Linked DNA regions of Homo sapiens: region 1 is linked to region 2. The links are contacts of gene promoters, found by promoter capture Hi-C in human tissues and cell types (Jung and others, 2019). All regions are on one chromosome and are shown on one strand. The core of a region is centred on a gene start or on the middle of the fragment in contact, and the rest is flanking DNA. Distances in the headings are between cores, read along the strand shown. Region 1 overlaps LHFPL4 (LHFPL tetraspan subfamily member 4). Region 2 holds the start of SEC13 (SEC13 homolog, nuclear pore and COPII component).

Region 1 (3,072 bases), core at 296-2,795, 820 kb after region 2:
TTTATTCTAGATACTGCTCCAGGGTGGGCTGGACTCTTTCCTACTTTTTTTTTTTTTCTTTTTTGGCTGATGTTGGTTCCACCACATCTGCCACAAAGCTCCAGGTGCCACCAGTCTCCCCTGGGACCTCCTCTGCTCCATTCCGGCCTGCTCCCAGCTCACCCTGAGGGAGAGCTGCACCGAGGGATGCACAGGGCCCTGCTGTCAGCTGCAGACCGGGGCCCTGATCAGCCCAGAGTCAGAAAAGACTTTCAGGCTCTGGAGGTAGCGGGAGGGGGTACGTGGCCTCGGCAGTTGGAGCTTAGAAGCTGCTCAGCCCGGGCTGGCCTGGCCTCCTCTTCCTCTCTGCTGGAACATCTCACTGATGACTGAGCCCTTGACCTTGGCCTCTTTTGCCCAGGCCTCCTCTCTGCTGGGATGTCTCACCAATGACTGGACCCTTGACCCTGGCCTGTTTTGTACAGCACAGACTTCTTGGCCCTGTTGTCAGGGTTGGGGGTGTGGAGGGGACCCCAGAGGTGGGGAGTTGGGGGATGCATTACCCCTTCTGCCCCTTTTCATGCCCTCCATACCCCAGGCGTCTACCAAGGGCAGAGACTGTCTTGTCTCTTTGATACTTTTCTGCATAACTTGAACTTGCAGGTCATCTCTGAACAGGGTACCCCTGTCCCCCTTCCTAAGCCTTGTTACCCTGTCCCAGCCTCTTCCTCCTCCTGGCCCACCTCTCGCCTTGCGATATGCCCAGGGTCTGCACCTATGGGCAGTGCTTGGAGCCGAGGCATGAGTGTATGTGTATGTGGGTGAAATGTGTGTGCGTGTGTGTGCGCGTGTGAGCGTGTGTGTGTGTGTGTGTGTTGGGGGACAGGTGAGAAGTTTCTCCCCCCTCCACCCACTGTGGGGGCGTCTCCCTTCCCCTTGGCAGGGAGCAGGTGAGGGAGACTCCTGGTATTTTTTGAACACCCGTCATTCCCCTGTGGGTCTGGCGGCAGAGCCATCTCTCCCGGGGAGCCTCCCTGCCCTGGGGCCTGGACAGCTCCCTCAGCACTAGTTGCTGGTGCAGACCGGCTTCGTCCAGCGCCCCCTCCTGGCGGCCTGGACCTGCAGGGAAGGGGCGGTGCCCTGCAGGATGCCAGGGGAAGCCGCCTCGGGCCTCGGCGGAGGGGAGAGGGTCGCTTGAGCGCCATGTGTTTGCCAACCTTGTGTTCATTTCCACAGGACTTGGACCTGAGAGTTAGGGTTTCCAAGAAAGACCCTAGAAGTCCCCTGCCTGTCTCCCCACTCTGGACCCTAGCCGGAATCAGATGTTGGGACCTAGTGGGTTCCTGCCACCTGGAACTTACCAAGTCCCGACTTCACTCCTCCACTTACTCCTCCCGGGCAAAGCCTCCCCGCAGTGCTCTGGTCCCAGCGCTGGGCTCCCCTTCCCCGCCGGCGCCTTCCCGGACAGTCCAGTCGGCCTGGGGTAGGGGCGCTGCGGGACAGAGGGTCCGAGTTAAATGCGGGAGGATGCGGGAGCCCCGTGGGAGGGAGTTGGGGTAGGAGGGAGTTCCTCAAAGATGCAAACCAAGCCCAGCGTTGGAGGGGGAGAGCAGAGTTAGGAGAGAGTGAGGGGAGGGGCGCAGCAAGCGACTGGGAATGGGAGAAGACACTGGGGTGAGGAGAAGAGGGGTGCAGAGACAGGGAGATGAGAGATGATTGGAGAAGGAGCGAGGGGGACGCACAGGCACAGAGAAACAGCGCGAGGAGGAGAGATCGAGAGAGACGGGGCAGAGGTGGAGAGAGATGAGAGACCAGCTGAGAGGCTGCCCGAGAGCTTGGGGTGGGGGAGGGGAAATGGATGAAAAGGCGGAAAAAGGACTCGGGAGCGGGGAAGAGGTAAATGGAGATGTGGGTTGGGGGCAAGAATGGGATGCAGAGGAAGGAGAGGAGGATGAAGGAGCCAGGATGCGGGGCAGTGGGGAGGGGGTTGCTATCTGGGCACTGGGTGAGGGGAGAGCTTGTTCCCCCAAGGACGCCTGCCACCAGGTGTCCTTGCCACACCTTGTTCCCCAAGGACACCCACCAAACCTGTGCCCTGGTGCGGGGGATAGAACTGACCTTTCAGAGGCTGGAGGCCCGGGGCACAGGCAGCCAAGGCCGCATCCTTTTGGGAAGAACTGGAGTGAAGGAAGCCACTTCAGAGGACGTAGTGGGTCCAGCTGACTTAGGAGTGGGTCAGCGCCGGGTGGAGAGGAGGGAGGCTAGTTCCCTGGTGGGGTAGCCTGGCAACATTCCCATTCCACCGCACCTGGCCAGCTGCCATCTTGGCAGAGCCAGGGGGAGATGCACCAGGGAGTTTGGAGTCAGGAAGGCAGAGTTGTGTGGGCTGAAGTCTGCGGGAACCCCAGGGTGACACAGGCAAGGGGTAGAAGTCAGAGTGGGGACCAAACCATAGACTGGGGCCCTGGGTTCTGCAGAGGTGTGGATGGGGCAGGTGGCAGGTGCTCCAGTGGGGGCCCCAGGTGAGGCCCTGATGGCCCTCCTGGGGCAATAAAGACATCATGGGAAGGGGGCTTTGTGGTTTGCCTCTGCTCTCGTCGGGCGATCTGGCTTTAGCCTTCAGGAGGAGGTAAGCAGAGGAGATCAGTGCCTGTTTCTGACCCCAGGAGGGCCTTGTTGGGCTCCAACCTAGAGCCTTCCGGCTTCAGGTCCCAAGAGAAGTCCCCCCCTAACTGTGACCCCCCTAACTGTGATCAGGGGTCTGCCATTGCCCGCTTTTCTCTGCCTGATCTGGGGACTCAGGAGAGGCCACGGCAGCCACAGCCTAGGGGTGGTTCAGTCCCTGGCCCACAGTCTGGTCAGTTGAGTCCTTCTGGGAACCGGGGCTATGAAAACTTTCGTCTTTGGGGACCGGTACCCATGAAGGAAAACTTTCCTGAGGGGGTGAGGACCAAAGAATCAAGATCCTTTTCAGGCCTGATAGCCAAGATGATGAGAACTTTTAGATAAGGCTGTGGGGAGAGTCCCTGGCCTTTTGAGCATCCTGCTTGGGCACACGGGGAATAACCTTTCTCCAGCTTCCAGTGTGAACTG
Region 2 (3,144 bases), core at 27-2,526:
CTATCACATTCTCTGAGCCTTAACATCTTCCTTCAAGCAGTGACCATCTCCAGCTAGGGTCCTTACTCCCAGTTTCAGCAGAGGAAACTGAAGGACTGTGACTTGCCCAAGGGGAGCCAAGGCCTCCCCCAGCTCATCTGCCTCCTTAATGTCACAAGGGGCCCAGGGCTAGACCATATGTGGCTGAGGCGGGGAGCCCAGGCTCTGTCCTCCAGTGTGGCATTCTCACTGCGCTTGTGGGGAGCCTTCAGCTGCCCTACCTTGTGAAGCCAGAGACCTGGGGTTGGGGACCCTGAGGATTAGGTCTGGGGCTCTAGCTGCAGGAGCCTGGCTGAGATCCTTCATTGCCTAGGGGGGTCTCCTTGATGGGACTTACTCAGGACCCCAGGGGATCGGTTTGGAAGGGGCAGTCCTATATAGGGGTTAGGGATGGCAGGGCCAGAGGTCCCAGCCTCTGGCGAGGGGCATTCCCTGGCCTCCTCTGCCCTGGTCCCAGTCCTTGGGTACTGAGAGGGAGACTACAACAAGGAAGCACTAGGACAGTCTACTTACTCCTAAGATGTCACTCATCCTACAACATTCATCATAAGACCAGTCGCACCCAGAGCCGTAGTGAGGCGGGTGAAGCTGCAGATAGATAGATGATAGATAGATAGATAGATAGATAGATAGATAGATAGATAGATAGATAGATTTTTTTCTTTTTTACAAGAGTGTCTCTCTGTTGCCCAGGCTGGAGTGCAATGGTGCAGTCACGGCTCACTGTAACCTCCACCTCCCGGGTTCCAGCGATTCTCCTGCCTCAGCCTGTAGCTGGGACTACAGGCGCGCGCCACTATGCCCGGCTAATTTTTGTATTTTTGGTAGAGACGGGGTTTCACCATGTTGGCCAGGCTGGTCTCGAACTCCTGACCTCAGGTGATCCACCCCCCAGCTCAGCCTCCCAAAGTTCTGGGATTACAGGCATGAGCCACCGCGCCCGGCCGATAGTTATATTAATCCTTTCTTTCATTTATGGATCTCAGGAAAAGGGCAGACTTGGTCGGGAGAGTAGACCCACCAGAGCTTCAGATTCCAAAGCCCTCCGGGTCAGGGTAACTGCGGCAACCAGAGCCCCAGCCCTCTGGTCTCGCACGTCACTGGAGGATAGGGGCTGGGCCACGGGAGGGCGGGGCGCGCCCTCTGGAAGGCGCGGAACTGCTGTGCGAGCCGAGCGCGTTGCTGCCCGGAGGCTCCTACGCCACGGCCCGTCGGGCCCGGCGCCGGAAGTGAGCTGTTCCGAGGCGCCGCCGGGAGCTGCCACGTCCGAGACCTGGAGCAGCCACCGCCGCAATCATGGTGAGTGTTGGTACTGAGGAGGCCTAGCAGGGTGAAGGCCACGGTCGCGGCCTTCACGGGTTCCTCGGCCGTCCTGAGTCCCAAATCCCAAGCTGGAGCCGTTCAGCTCCCCTCCACCGCTTAGAGATTTGGGGGGCTCTGGCCCCGTCCTTGCGGACCATTCCGAGGGGAGTCCAGAGGTGAGGCCGAGGAACCTCCCTGACTTTGCGGGGCGCGCCGCTCCTGCGTCTCCTGCCAGTCTCCCTTCCTTCTTTTCGGTCAACAATTGAAAACAAAACGAGGAACAGCAGAGGAGCTACTGTATACCGAGCCCTCAGCATTGTTCGTAATCTCCGCCTGCTAACAGCCTTGTGAAGAAGGTGCTATTCTTCTCAACACTTTACAGATGAGGACACTTGAGGTTCGGAGACGTGGAGCCTCTTGCACAGCTGCTTAAGTGGTAGTAGAGCCGAGATTTGAACCCTCCTAACCATTCCTTTCTGCCGCCTACTGCAGCTCCCAGCAGAGATGATTGAACTGTTGCTCGGGGTAGGGCCCCCAGGTAGGATGGGCACCTCGGGAAACGTAAAGATGGCCTGAACGACCCTCCGAAGGCAGGGGCTCAGGGTTTTTTAAGTCTCTGTGGCATCTGCAGTGTACATTCACTCCACACTTACTCCTTGAGTGAATGAATGACTGAAGGAGAACTAAAGAATGGAAGTATCTGGGCTGAGCCTGGAATATCTAGTACATGCATTCTTTTAGAAACATGGGTGTGTCTCAGCAGCAGGTTTGAGGGAACCTGCAGGAACCTAGAAATCAGAACACTGTGTTCTTGTTCTGCAGAGGGTTAGGTGTAAATCACTCACCTCTGGCTCTTCCACTGCAGGTTAGAGTTGAGGCTTTTATGCTCTGACATTCAGCTCATCCTAAATGAATTTTTAACTCATTATCTGATCTCAAAGAGGTGAATTATTTTGAGTGCAGGTGTTAACAGGGACCAGATAATACCAGGTCCCTGGGAAGAAGTACTCTAAGAAGTTCTCTCTCTCTCTCTCTCTCTCCCCACCCTCCCTCTCTCCCCACTCCCTCTCCCTCCCCCCTTCCTCTCCCTCTCCCTTTCTCTCTCTCCCCCTCCCTCTCTTCTCTCTCTCTCTCCCCGCTCCCTCTTCCTCCCCCCTTCCTCTCCCTCTCCCTTTCTCTCCCGCCCTTCCTCCTTCCTTCCGTCCTTTTCTCTCCCCCTCCCTCTTTCCTCCCCCCCCCCCCCCCCCGCCTTCTCTCTCTCTCTCTCTCTCTCTCTCTCTCTCTCATTCAGAAGTGTGGTTCATCAACCCTGACTGGTGGGTGAGAGTGGTTAGAATTAAATGCTGATTATTTCTAAGGTCCTTTGGTAACCTGGTTGAAACTACCTCTCAGTAAACTTTCTTCGTGAACCTACTTAACCGCAGCTTTACAGAACTCAGTGTAACAACTGCTTTACATTCTAGACAGGCAGCCTGGTGGAGTGAAGTTTTGTGGACTCAGCATTAGAAGGTTAGGGGATGGGGCTCTTTTCCCAGGTCTGCCTTGAACTAGCTCTGTGACTTTGGCAAGTGCTTTCTCTTCTCTGGGCTTCTTCATTTCCTTAGTCTGTCGCAGGTCTCTGATTGACTGTGCCCTTGGTACCCTGCCCTCCCCGCCTTCCTGTGCACTTTGTAACCTATACAGCTCGGCACATGGAGGAAACTCCTTATTGTCCTTACTTGCCTTTGCAGACTTCGGGGACCTGGTTTTTAGAGAGTCTAGAATCTGATGAGAGAACCTGTGCTTACTTGGTGTGTACCTCTT

Evidence for each region. Contacts are between HindIII fragments. The study calls those that stand out against the background at their distance.
Region 1: a fragment that was not itself captured here is called in contact with the fragment with the promoter of SEC13 in region 2 in 1 of the 25 tissues and cell types used here (lymphoblastoid cells).

The regions. Positions count from the first base shown.
Region 1 is chr3:9,498,724-9,501,795 of GRCh38, reverse strand. LHFPL4 (LHFPL tetraspan subfamily member 4) reads left to right here. Exons shown (of 4, transcript NM_198560.3): 4 at 1-3,072. Among named protein-coding and RNA genes, the nearest start is that of LHFPL4, 54 kb to the left of the region's middle. RefSeq lists an enhancer at 1-470. The HindIII fragment of the contact is 7,926 bases long and covers 1-3,072 here.
Region 2 is chr3:10,319,244-10,322,387 of GRCh38, reverse strand. It overlaps SEC13 (SEC13 homolog, nuclear pore and COPII component), which reads left to right and starts at 1,276. Exons shown (of 9, transcript NM_183352.3): 1 at 1,276-1,338. The coding sequence starts at 1,336. RefSeq lists a silencer at 1,041-1,120 and enhancers at 968-1,563, 1,311-1,610. The HindIII fragment of the contact is 24,307 bases long and covers 1-3,144 here.